Linked DNA regions of Homo sapiens: region 1 is linked to region 2. Evidence: promoter capture Hi-C in 16 types of primary human blood cells and fetal thymus (Javierre and others, 2016). All regions are on one chromosome and are shown on one strand. The core of a region is centred on a gene start or on the middle of the fragment in contact, and the rest is flanking DNA. Distances in the headings are between cores, read along the strand shown. Region 1 holds the start of LOC124904700 (a long non-coding RNA gene). Region 2 holds the start of TMEM147 (transmembrane protein 147).

Region 1 (6,865 bases), core at 71-2,570, 570 kb after region 2:
TAAAAGTTCCTCTGGGCCAGGCGCGGTAGCTCACACCTGTAATCCCAGCACTTTGGGAGGCCGAGCTGGGCAGATCACTTGGGGTAAGGAGTTCGAGACCAGCCTGGTCAACATGGTGTAACCCCGTCTCTACTAAAATACAAAAATTAGCCGGGCGTAATGGTGGGAGCCTGTAATCCCAGCTACTCTGGAGGCTGAGGAGGGAGAATCGCTTGAACCCGGGAGGCGGAGGTTGCAGTGAACAGAGATCGCGCCATTGCACTACAGCCTGGGCGACAGAGGGAGACTCCATCTCAAACACACACACACACACACACACACACACACACACACACACACACACACTTCCTCTGGTGGTTCTAACACGCAGCCAAGGTAGAGAACCACTGAGTTACAGCCTGGCCCTCAAGGGTGCACACCAATTGCCTGGGTGGGGGAGTTGACAAAATGCAGATTTTGATTCAGCAGGTCTGGTTTTAAGTCCTGAGGTTCTGCTTTTCAAACAAGTTCCCAGACGCTGCTGCCGCTGGTGGCCGGACAGCATTTTGACAGAAAGGGGCGGGAGCACAAGCAAAGTTCCCTGGGACCGGGATTGTGGTTCTAGTGCCCTCTGGTGGTCAGGACCTCCCTAGCAGCGCCCTGCAGAGAAGAACTGATGATAGAAGCCCTGGCTAACAGAATTTCTGGCGGACACCTGGATTTCAGCCTTGTAATGACCGGAGCAGAACCCAGCCAAGCCTGCTTGGACTCCTGACCTACAAAACTGTGAGATAATAAACGGGTGTTGTTTAAAGCTGCTAAATTTATGGTAATTTGGTGTGCAGCAATAGACAAGAACAAGCTTCATCGTAACAGGCCAGCTGAGAAACCCAAACCCACAGGCTCGGCCCAGTGACCTTGCACGTCTCTTCTCTAGTTCAGGGAGATGGATTCATTCCCAACCTCCTGCTCTCATGGGAGACGAGGTGGAAAGGATTGTACTTCTTGCTGCTTTATTTTTTCATGATTGCTGACTTCTTTTCATCCTACGATGCTTGTTGTCACTGACACCCGTGAAAGCTCAGGGGTGGGATGGTGGTGGGGTTGTTTGCTCTCTGTGGCTGATTGTATTTTCCAAAGGTGAATGCACGGATATATCCTATGCCACATGCCCTCCTTACAATGACCTCGATGACTTGATCTCCTTCATGGAGATATGGGATTTATGTTCCCATCCCTTCAATCTAGCAGGCCTGAGACTGTGGCAGGAGTGACCCCAGGTGACTTTGAAGGCTAAGTCATAAAAGGGGATAACTTCTGCCTGGCTCTCTCTTTCTCAGGGTGCTCATCCTCGGAACCCAGTCTCCATGCTGTGAGGAAGCCCAAGCAGATGCACAGAAAAGCCACCTGTAGGTATCCTGGTCACAGCCCCATCTGAGAGCCAGCATCAATTGCCAGACTTGTAAGTGAGAGAGCTTTCAGAAGGTTCCAGTCCCCTGTCTTCAAGTGGCCCAGCTGATGCTGAGTGAAGCAGACATGAGCCCCAGTGAGTCCTATCCAAGTTGTAGATTCGTGAGCAGAATAAACATTGCTTTGATTCTGGAGCAGTGGCTCGTGCCTGCAATCCCAGCACTTTGGGAGGCTGGGATGGGATGAATGCTTGGGACCAGGAGTTTGAGACGAGCCTGGACAACATGGAAAAACCCTGTCTCTACAAAAAATTAAAAAATTAACCAGGTGTGTTGGTATGAGCCTGTGGTCTTAGCTACTAGGGAGGCTGAGGCGGGAGAATCGCTTGAACCCGGGAGGTCAAAGCTTCAGTGAGCAGTGATTGCACCACTGCACTCCAGCCTGGGTGATAGACTGAGACTCTGTCTTAAAAAACACACAAACAAAAAACCCCAAACCAAAAAACCCCCACATCGCTCTAAGCTGTGAAACTTTGGGATGATTGTGGTGCAGCAAAAGACAACTAGAACACTGTCAGGTTTTTCCCGAGGACAAAACACTGAATTTGACCCTGTGTAGGGGTTGGGGTGAGGAAGCTTTGGTTTTGATAAATTACAGGTGAATTACCTGTTTTCCATTAATTACTATTTTTTGTTTTGTTTTGTTGAGATGGAGTCTCACTCTGTTGCCCAGGCTGGAGTGCAGTGGCACGATCGTGGCTTGCTGCAATCTCTGCCTCCTGAGTTCAAGTGATTCTGCTGCCTCAGCCTCCTGAGTAGCTGGGAGTACAAGTGCCCACCACCACGCCCAGCTAATATTTTGGATTTTTAGTAGAGATGGGGTTTCACTATATTGGCCAGGCTGGTCTGCAACTCCTGACCTCAGGTGATACGCCCGCCTTGGCCTCCCAAAGTGCTGGGATTACAGATGCGAGCCACCGCGCCCAGCCCATTAATTACTATTTTTAAAAGGCAGTCTCGTAAGAAACTAAGCACAGTGCTTATAAACCATTAGGAACTCCCCAGAAAGTTTTTGGAGTATTAGCATTTTTATAACTTTTTTTCTTTGCCACTTAATTCCCTTAAAAGATTCTCTCTTTAAATAGTTCTCAAGGAGAGTCCAGACCCGGGGGGAGGGTAGTTTGAGATATTTTTCTCTCGGGACCTCCCCACTGGTGTTAGGCAGACTTCTAAGAGGGCCTCCAACAACCTCCACCTCCTGTTTGGGTGCCCTTGTGTCATTTTCTTCCCTTGAGTGTGGGCCCGACTTTATGACTTTGCTTCTAACCCAAAGAATATGGCAAAGGTGGTGGGAGGTGGCTTCCATGATGAGATTACAAAAGATTGTGACTTCTGTCTTATGGCAAACTCAACTGCCTTCTTGGTTTGCTTGCTTTAATGAAGCAAGCTCTCCGTTCTGCAAGGCCCAAGAGGGAAGGAATTGAAAGCAGCTTCAGGCCAAAAGCCGGGGAAGAACTGAGGCCCTCAGTCCGACAGGTTGTATGAAGTGAATGAACTTGGAAGTGACCCCTTTCCAGTTGAGCCATGAGATGAGATATTTGTCCTGGCTGGCACCTTGATGGCATTCTTGGGAGAGACCATGAAACAGGGAACCCAGCAGAGCCGTGCCTGGGTTCCAGACCCACAGAAACGAAGAGATAATAAAAGGATGTTGTTTTAAGCCTCTGCGTTTTTGGATAATTTGTTGTGCAGCAGTAGGTTACTAGCACACCGACCCTCCTCTGACTCCTGCAAATCATTTCTGTGTCCGAATCCCACGCTGCCACCATGCTCAGGCTAACCTGCACCCACCCTCCCCACACACATCAGGCATCTCAGCTGAGTGCATCTCCATGAAGCATGCGTTTCAGTTACACCCACCCTGGGTGTCTGTACCTGCATTTGCTAAAACTGTGTTGGAACACTCGACCTCATTCCTCACCCCTTTGTGTTGGGAACAGGACCCCCAAAATCTGGCCATAAACTGGCCCCCAAACTGGCCATAAACAAAATCTCTACAGCACTGTGACATGTTCATGATGGCCATGACGCCCATGTTGAAAGGTTGTGGGTTTGCCGGAATGAGAGCAAGGAACACCTGGCCCGCCTGGGGCGGAAAACCGCTTAAAGGCATTCTTAAACCACAAACAATAGCATGAGCGATTTGTGCCTTAAGGACATGCTCCTGCTGCAGATAACTAGCCATACCCATCCCTTTGTTTTGGCCATCCCTTTGTTTCCCATAAGGAATACTTTTAGTTAATCTATAATCTATAGAAACAATGCTTATCACTGGCTTGCTGTTAATAAATACGTGGGTAAACCTCTGTTCGAGGCTCTCAGCTCTGAAGGCAGTGAGAACCCTGATTTCCCACTCCACACCTCTATATTTCTGTGTGTGTGTCTTTAATTCCTCTAGTGCCGCTGGGTTAGGGTCTCCCTGACTGAGCTGGTCTCGGCACTTTGTATCTTCTCTCCCAGAGCCTGTGTCCAATTCCGTCTGAAGCAGGGAAAGCCTCAGCCACACTGTCCACCTGATATAATTTGGATATTTGTCCCCTCCAAATCTCAGGTTGCAAACTGATCCCCAGTGTCGGAGGTGGGGCCTAGTGGGAGGTGTTTTGCTCACGGGAGCGGATCCCTCATGAATGTGTTGGTGCTGACCCCACAGTAATAATAGTTCTCCCTTGCTTCCTGCCATGTGATCTCCACACACCAGGTCCCCTTCACCTGCCATCATGAGTGGAAGCTTCCTGAGGCCTCATCAGAGGCTGATGCTGATGTCATGTTTCCTGTACAGCCTGTAGAACCTTGAGCCAAATGAACCTCTTTTCTTTTCCAGATAAAAATAAATTAGTGGCTGGGTGCAGTGGCTCACTCCTGTAATGCCAGCACTTTGGGAGGCTGAGGCAGGCAGATCACTTGAGGTCAGGAGTTAGAGACCAGCCTGGTCAACATGGTGAAACCTGTCTCTACTAAAAATACAAAAAATAGCCAGGTATAGTGGCGCACATCTGTAGTCCCAGCTACTTGGGAGGCTGAGGCAGTAGAATTGCTTGAATCTGGGAGATGGAGATTGCGGTGAGCCAAGACTGCACCACTGCACTCCAGCTTGGTAACAAAGCCAGACCCTGTCTCAAAAATAAATAAATAAATAAGCTGGGTGTGGTGGCACATTCCTGTGGTCCCACCTACTCAGGGGGCTGAGGCGGGAGGATCACTTGAGCCTGGGAAGTCAAAATGGCAATGAGCTATGATCATGCCACTGCACTCCAGAGTGGGCTTTAGAGCAAGACCCTGTCCCAAAGAAATAAATCAATAAAAATAAAAATAAAATTACCATATGACCCAGGAATCCCACTACTGAGTATACATCACAAGGAATTGAAATTGGTATGTCAAAAAGATATCTGCACTGCCATATTCATTGCAGCAATGTTCACAATAGTCAAGCGACTGAAGTGCTCATCAACAGATAAACGGATTTGTACAATGTGGTAGAGATACACAACTGAATACTATTTGGTCATAAAAGAGAAGAAAATCCTGTCAATTGGGACAACAAGGTTGAACCGGAGGACATTATATTAAGTGAAATAAGTCAGGCACAGAGGACAAATACTACATAATCCCACTCATATATGGAACCTAAAAAAGTTGTCTCATAGAAATAGAGTGAAATGTTGGTTACCAGAGGCTGAGGTTGCCAGGTGGTGGGAGTGGGGCAATGTTGGTCAAAGGATATAAAATTTCAGGTAGCTAGGAGGAATAAGTTCAAGAGATCTATTGTACAACCTGGTGACTGTAGTTACGGTGTATTCTTGACAAATGCTTAAAGAGTAGATTTTAAGTCTTCTCAACACAAAAAAGATAACTAAGGCTGGTGCCATGGCTCACACCAGTAATCGCAGCACTTTGGGAGACCAAGGCAAGGAGGAGTGCTTGAGCCCAGGAGTTTGAGACCAGCCTAGACAACATGGTGAAACTCCATCTCTGCAGAAGATACAAAAAACTAGCTGGGTGTTGTGGTGCACGTCTGTAGTCTCAACTTCTCGGGAGGCTGAAGTGGGAGGATGGCTTGAGCTCAAGAGGTCAAGGCTGCTGTGAGCCACGATAGTGCCACCGTACTCCAGCCTGGGTGAGAGAATGAGACCCTGTCTCAAAACAAAACAATGTGAAGTGATGCATATGTTAATGAGCTTGATTTAGTCATTCTGAAGCAGGATATTTCCCTGACCCCTTCTTGGATGGGAACTAGAGTACATGGGCGCTGTCAGGGACGAACTCCACTCGCTTGTTGTTCCACCCCTCATGGGGAGGGGAGCACAGGTGAGTGGGTGCAGGAGACAGGGTGAGGGCTTTTGGGTGCTGGCAAGAGCAAATTCCATACTAGCCCCACGGCAGTGTCTAGGGGAAGGTGCTGTGACCCCTGAAGCCCCTGACGAAGTGTTACAGTGCCCTTTTAGCTTTGCCATCCATGCATAGCTTAAGTGTTAACAGCTCAGTGGAGGGTCAGTGCGACAGCCTTTTGTACCCACACTCATGGCACCCAAGTTTTTGTCTGGCATCCAGGAGGAATGAGGTCACACAAACAAATTGAAGATGGTAAATGCAGGGGATTTTATTGCCGGTGAAAGTGGCTCTCAGCAGGAAGAGGAGCTGAAAAGGGGATGGAGCAGGAAGGTAATCGTCCCCTGAAGTTTGGCCATCCCTGGCCATCCTCTCCAAAGCTACGCTGTCAAGCTGTCCCTTTGAAGTCAGCCTGCTTCTCTCCAACATCCAACCATAGTCTCCAATGTCCAGCTGCTTTTCTTCTCTCTGCCGGCTGAGCCTGGGGTTTTTATGGGCATAGGATGGGGGGCAGGGTGAGCCACGGGTGGTTTTGGAAAAGGCAACATTTGAGTGGGAAAACAGGGATGTAAGTTCTCACTTTGGGCCGTGGTATCAAGATTTTCAGCTTGATGGACCTGGCCTCTTCTGCCCAGAATTTCCCTACCTCCTGTCCCTATCAATTCCACAATGTATCTATATTTCAAAACATCATGTTGCATACAATAATTATATATTATTTTATAAATTTAGAAAAACAAAAAAATGCAGCTATAAGAAAATAATAAAATAAAATCAAGTAGGCAAATGTTACTATGGTGTGCTTTCATGTAAAAATCATAACTATTCCCTCTGAGGCGGTACTTGCTGAGTTAGAGTCATTGTATATTTTGACAAACATCCAAAAGACTGCACAGAGGTGTCTCTTCCCTGCCGCCCCACAGCAGTGTTTGTAAGATTCTTGTGATGATGGTGTTGGTAATGACAATAGCTTTTATGCACCCAGCAGGAATTCTGTCCTGGGCCCTGTTATCTACCATTGTAACCACCCAATGGGTTCTTTTTGCCTGCTACAAAAAGACCACGGCATTGCAGTAAACAAAGTCTTT
Region 2 (6,390 bases), core at 1-2,500:
CTCCAGCACCCCCGTGGAACCCAGGTGTCCCTTCTCAGGGGTCTGGGCTCCAGGCTGCTGTACGCACCGGGACATAATAAGCTCAGCAGTGGCCCAGCCCAGGGCAGCAACCATGATCTTGTACTCTCCCTTGCCGGCATTCCGGGACATGACAAGGTTTAGACCTATCAGGTCTGCCACATCCACGCTGGCCTTCATGAACTCCTGCGGGTCAGGTTGAGGCTTAAGTAAGCACAGGGGGACAGGGAGCCCCATTCCTGAACTCCCTTCCCTTCCCTGGCCCCTCTCACCCCAATGAAGTCATAGATGCCGCCTTCCCAGGTGGGAAAGAAAGTGGCCAAGAACAGCATCTGAGAACAGAAAGCAGAAAGAGGTCACTTCAAGGTGAGGGGATCAAGATAAACCACGTGGGATTTGTGGGAAGTTCGTGGGTAGGAAGAGGGCAGGACAGGTTCTGGGGGCCCATCTGGAAGAGGAACCACCAGATGGTGGCAAAATTACAGGAATCGGGGAGATAGAGGATAGGTCCCCGGGTCCCCGAGGGGGCTGGAAGTTTGAGTTCTGGGTGATCACAGGGCATCTGAGTCAGGTCTGAAGGTGCTGCTCCTTGGGCAGTGTTAGCAGCACGTACGGAATCAGTGATCACTCTTAACCGCACCAAAAAAAACCTGTTAGCCAACCACACTACTGAGGTTTTCTCAGTTTTACTAAGTGCTACGCAAAAGTTGCTTCTAGGTCTCTTCTCAGGTCGTGCCCTCTTTAAAGTCCATCCTCTCTAGGTATCCTGACGCCTCCCAGTGCGGAGTCCCGAGGGCGGTCCCACCGTGGGGCGGCGGGGGCGCGGATAGGCAACGGGGGCGGGTCCCTGGGTCTGCAGAGCCTGGGGGCCAGAACACGTGGCTTCCCGGTGGCCCTCACCTTGCAGAGTTGGACAAAGAGGTAGGTGACTCCAGCCTGGACGCATTTCCAGAAGGCGTTGTACTCGGACCTGGAGAAGCGGGAGGTGAGGGTCGGCCCGGGCCCCGCGCCCTCTCCGCCCCGCGCCCTTCCCGCACTCACAGGCCGCTGCACTTGTAGGTGATGAAGTAGGGGAAGTAGGCAAGAGCGAAGCAGTTCCCGAAGTGAAACAGGGTCATGATGCCGGCCGCCCGGTCCCGCCCGCGCGGGGATCGCGAGGCGGCGTCTCCGGGAGCGGGTCTCCGGCTCCGCCGGCTCTTTCGCCACGGCCAGGGCCTGGCACCCACCTGACTGGCGGGGGCCCGCGCGCGACCTTCTGGGAGCAGTAGTCCCGGCGCGGGGCGTCGCGCCCAGTGACGTCAGAGAGCCCGTGGCCGGCCCTGGGTCCCACCGCTGCCGGCCCAGCGCTTTGGGGAGTGACTTCCGGCCATGCGGGGCCTCTACCGCTGCCATCGCGGTCCCGGTCTCCTGAAGTGGAACCCGGCTTGGAGTCGAGCGCGACCCCTCGCCCGTGGGCGCAGGCGATCGAGTAAGGGTGGGGCGGGCCTCAAACCCGGATCAGAACCCGCCCTGACCGGCGCAGAGATACGGGACGCAGCCGTGAGCACTGTTTTTTATTTCACCATGGACCCATCGGCGTGGGGCGCCCGCCCCGGGTGTCCTTCCTCCCCCGGGCAGCCAGATGCTGGAACGGGAGGCACATGTTCCGGCCCCGGCCCCTGGGAAGGAAAGAAAGGACCTTCCCGTTTCACTTGTCTCGGCTGAACATGTAGCGGAGGAGGTCGACCACCCGGTGACTGTAGCCATATTCGTTGTCGTACCTGTGGAGGAGGGGTCGGGAGGTTCAAGGGGGTTCCTTCCGACCACCCCTTAGTTCCCCTCCCTCTAAGTCTCCAGCTCCTTCCCCCTTACCATGAAATGAGCTTCACGAAATTGTCATTGAGCGCAATGCCGGCCTTAGCATCGAAGATGGACGAGTGGGTATCACCGAGGAAGTCCGTAGAGACGACCTGGAAGTCAGAATTTCAAAGATAAGTGTGTCCGGCAGAGCAAGGACCTCCAGGAGCTGAGGCCCCGACTCTTAACTCTATCGCCCATCCATGCATTCATCTATAATATTTGATGTAGCCCTACTGTGTCCAGTCTCTGGACTGGAGGGTATGACCAAGTGCAGGGTATGACCAAGGCACTGTGTCAGGGTCTGGCCAAAGGGCACAGGTCACAAACACCCTCATGCTGTACCAGTACATCCCTTTCCTAGGAATAATGCAAGCGTTTGGAATGGGCCAGCATGGAGGGCCTCTCTGAGGGGTGGCCATGAGCCTGGGTCTAGATGACTAGAAAGATCTGACCGGCTGGGGCCCTCAGCACAGTGTCTGAGGTAGAAGGAGCTGCAGGAAGGGAGGACCTGAGGGTTTTAGCCCTAGTGTCATGAAAGGCCACAGGAGTGTTTTCAATCCTGAAAACGGGTGATGCAATGTGATTCCATTAAAACAAAAGATCCCAGTGACTGTGGGAAAGTGGACCTGCAGGAGTTAATGCAGGGAGACAGCACCAAGGTGGATGTACAGGGGTCCACCATGACCATGGCATCCACTCCTCACAGAGAAGGCATCTGGCCATGGCCTGGCCCTGAGCAAGTATTGAAAAAAATGGGAGCTGTTGTCTTTTGTTCACTAAGCATGTATTAGTCACCTGCTGTATGCCAGGTTGGAGCCACAAAAGTGAAAAGGCAGCCCCTAAATCCCTGTTTTCTTGGAGTGCACACACCACTGGGGCCAACAGTGACTATGAAATGAAATTTCAGGTGAGGAATATGGCCACAAAAAGAACATATTTTGAGGGGGTGCCTTGCTGAAGAGGGAGGTTCCTCCAGAGACTTGGAGGAAGTAAGGACAGACTGTATGGTCACCTGGCAAGGGAAGCATTCCAGACTAAAGGAACAGCAAGTGCAAAGGCCCTGAGGCAGGGAGATCTCCCTTCCTGCCCTGCAGTTTCTGACTTGGCACATTGAGAGCAGCTCCCTGGCAAGTGGAAATCATGTCCCTTCCCAGAGGGCTCCTCCCAGGGTCTCCTCTCCTCAGCCCCTACCTCATCCTCGGTGTAGGCAAGGATGCCAGCCATGGGCCCCTTGGCTGCTGCTTTTACAGCCTCCTTGATGGCTGAGTAGGGGGCAGGCTGGGCGAGGCGGCAGGTCAGGTCCACGACAGACACATCCGGGGTTGGTACCCGGAACGCCATCCCTGTCAGCTTCCTGGAGAATCCCCCATGAGGAACAGGAGTCAGAACTTAGGGACGTTGCCCTCCATTCCCCCTTTCCCTGTGGCTGGGCCAGGCCCCTGCTTTCCTCTTAAGGACTGAGGGCCGGGCCAGTCCAGTCCTCCTGGCGTATGCCCCCACCCTGGTTGCAGCTTCTTGTCCTCATACCCTTTGAGCTCTGGGATGACTTTGGTCACAGCTTTCGCAGCCCCAGTGGAGGCTGGGATGATGTTCTGGTGGGCACCCCGCCCATCTCGCCAGGCCTTCCTTGATGGCCCGTCCACTGTCTTCTGGGTGGCCGTGTAGGAATGGACTGTGGTCTTGGGGAAGAGAAGGACCAAGATGAGGCCTTCATGCTCCTAAGCTCCCATGCCTCTTTTTTCCAGGACTAAGTTGGTGGCCTAGGTGTGGAGGCTGGTGGGGCCACCACCACAGACCACAGGAGGGGATGTGTGCAGGCCAGGGTCCAGCCTTGCCTGAGGGTTGCACAGTGTTTTAAGTGACTTCTGCACTGGTGGGCCTCTCCTCCCGAAACCAGTCTCTCCCTCTTAACTCCATACAGTAAGCAAGGCCCGGGAAGAAGTTGGGTTTCCCTGCCATCCTTCCTGCCCCAGCCCCTCATCCTCAACTCACCATCAACCCTTCCACGATCCCAAATCGCTCGTGGATGACTTTGGCGAGGGGAGCCAAACAGTTGGTGGTGCAGGACGCGTTGCTGAAACAGCCAAGGTGTGCACGGACACTGTGAGGTGAGTCGCAGAGCCACCCCTCCACCCTTACCCCTCTTGGGGTATGCACGCAGACTTGGTTTTATGAAACGTCAGGATGAGGGTGAGAGGGATCTGTGGGGACACTGTCAGACTGAAGGAGGCACTGAGGTGCAGCTGGGGAGGCTCCCCAAGCTTGTCCTCTGGAAGTCATGCGTTTTTAGCAGATAGTTTCGGGAAGGAGAAGCAGAAGCCAAGCGACCAGGAATCCAGTGGGGCTGAGGGTGGGGAGGACGAGTCTACCCTCCCTTCCACACATTGCAGGATGTCACTGCCCACATTACCTCACAATGTTCATGGAGCCAGGGTTATAGTCATTTTCATTGACACCCATGACGAACATTGGTGCATCCGGTGAGGGCGCGGAGATGACCACACGTTGAGCACCTGCAGAGATGTGGTCCTGGGGAGGAAGCGCAGGTGTCAGGGGCTTCTGGCACCATCATCCCCCCAGCTAGCCCTGGGCACCTCTCCCCAGCTTACCGAAGCTGCCTGTATGGAGAGGTACACGCCTGTGGACTCCACCACGTAGGGGCTCCCGACAGCCCTCCAGGGGATCTGTTTGGGCTCTTTGCTGTGGGGAAGTGGCAGGGCTGAGTCAGTCTCCCCTGCTTGAGCCCCACCTTCATAGTCCATGGCTTTCACCATTTGACAGGCTGAGCAGGTACCGGCCCACCTGCAACCACCTGCGTCCCCTACCCCACACACCTACTTGTTCCAGATGGGCTCCACCCCGCTGGCCTAGCTTTTCACCACTGCCCCACTTCAGACCACTTTCCCTTTGCTGATTGCACCACCCCTGTTATGCCTGGGTACAGGTGGTGACCTCCCCAACTCAGCCCTCAACCTCCTCAGAGGCGCCAATGCTGACTGCTGTCAGCCAGCCCAGACCCTTTCTCCATATGCTGCCCGGGACGTGGACTCTGTGACTGTGAGGCCTGCCCGGCTGCTTTCTGCTTCCCAGCTCTGACAACCTCGCCATGAACCCTCCTAGACCCTCAGCTCCTGCAATAGGAAGCTGGCTGCCAAAGGCCAGGAGGGTCCCTGAAAACAGACACTGCATTAAAGAAAAAGCTCCTGGAGGACTCCTGAAGCCTGAGGCAGCCTTGGGGCAGCAGTGGCTCATGGTTTACATTGGAAAGGTAAGGGAGGTTTCTGGTTTCCTGTTTTATAAATTTATGTTTTTACTTGGTATTTTGACAAACATTTGTATTTGAAGCACACTAAACATCTAGTATTGCCGTTTTCTACTTGGCTTTAGCAAACAAGCATTAAGTGAATAAACTGTTCCACTTTCTTCCTTCCCAGGTTTATCATGAGTAACCGGGTGCTTTGCTTCTGTGATTCTTGGCCAGTGTCGGTCTGTTTCCTTTGCCATTGAGCCTGCTCCCCTCAATGGGGGGTTCAATCAATGTTTGTGGGGTTTGTTTGTTTTGAGACAGGGTCTTCCTCTGTCGCCCAGGCTGGAGTGCAGTGGTGCAATCAGAGCTCACTGCAGCCTTGATCTTCCTGGCTCCGGCCATCCTCCTGCCTTGGCCTCCCGAGTAGCTGGGACTACAGGCGCACACCACCATGCCAAGCTAATTTTTAAATTTTTTTGTAGAGATGGGGTCTCACTTTTGTTGCCCAGGGTGCTTTAGAACCCCTGGGCTCAAGTGATCCTTGACCTCCCACAGTGCTGGGATTACAGGTGTGAGCCACCGTGCCTGGCCTCATGGGTTTTCTTTGTTTTGTTTTGTTTTGTTTTTGAGACAGAGTCTCACTCTGTCACTCAGGCTGGAGTGCAGTGGCACGATTTTGGCTCACTGCAACCTCCACCTTCCGGGTTCAAGCGATTCTCCTGCCTCCGCCTCCCGAGTAGTTGGGGTTACAGGCATGCGCTACCACACCTGGCTAGTTTTTTATTGTTGTTGTTTTTTGTATTTTTAGTGGTGACGGGGTTTGCTCTGTTGGCCAGGCTGGTCTCAAACTCCTGACCTCAGGTGATCCCCACTTCAGCCTCCCAAAGTGCTGGGATGACAGGCATGAGCCTCTGCACCTGGCCTCGTGTTTTTTTTTTAGTTAGCCATTTTATACGTGTTTACTGAACACCTGTCCTGTGCCCATATTCTAAGTGCCTTACCTGCATTAAACTCATGTAACCTTCACAACCCGATGAGGAAGTGCTACCGCTGTCATTTTTTGCATTTTTTTACTGCTGTCAGGGCAGAGGGGAGGGGAGTGAGAGGGAGAGCCTGCTGGAGTGCAGGTGGCTGGTCCCACCTCGGGTCTGCACTCCTGTTTCCACTGCCTGAATGAATGAATGAATGGGCTGCCCTGCAAAGCCATCACACATGCATGGTTATCCTCTTCCTGTCTCCTGCTCTGTCAGTCCACTTTCCATCATCTGGCCCAACGAGCTCTTCTC

The links. The method cuts DNA at HindIII sites, captures the fragments that hold promoters and counts their contacts. A CHiCAGO score of 5 or more calls a contact.
Region 1: a contact is called between a fragment that was not itself captured here and the fragment with the promoter of TMEM147 in region 2, in 1 of 17 cell types (naive CD8 T cells). The highest score is 5.5, in naive CD8 T cells.

What each region holds. Positions count from the first base shown.
Region 1 is chr19:34,967,084-34,973,948 of GRCh38, reverse strand. It overlaps LOC124904700 (a long non-coding RNA gene), which reads left to right and starts at 322. Exons shown (of 2, transcript XR_007067237.1): 1 at 322-765; 2 at 1,320-1,583. It overlaps LOC124904699 (a long non-coding RNA gene), which reads right to left. Exons shown (of 2, transcript XR_007067236.1): 2 at 6,029-6,258. The HindIII fragment of the contact is 953 bases long and covers 844-1,796 here.
Region 2 is chr19:35,540,486-35,546,875 of GRCh38, reverse strand. It overlaps TMEM147 (transmembrane protein 147), which reads right to left and starts at 1,250. Exons shown (of 7, transcript NM_032635.4): 1 at 1,060-1,250; 2 at 919-988; 3 at 291-350; 4 at 68-204. The coding sequence starts at 1,136. It overlaps GAPDHS (glyceraldehyde-3-phosphate dehydrogenase, spermatogenic), which reads right to left. Exons shown (of 11, transcript NM_014364.5): 5 at 4,467-4,557; 6 at 4,268-4,386; 7 at 3,850-3,931; 8 at 3,385-3,536; 9 at 3,049-3,211; 10 at 1,870-1,967; 11 at 1,557-1,778. The coding sequence ends at 1,706. It overlaps TMEM147-AS1 (TMEM147 antisense RNA 1), which reads left to right and starts at 847. Exons shown (of 4, transcript NR_038396.1): 1 at 847-939; 2 at 3,603-3,965; 3 at 4,802-5,125; 4 at 5,292-6,138. RefSeq lists a silencer at 669-1,248 and enhancers at 941-1,633, 3,348-3,849, 6,244-6,390. The HindIII fragment of the contact is 5,741 bases long and covers 1-4,120 here.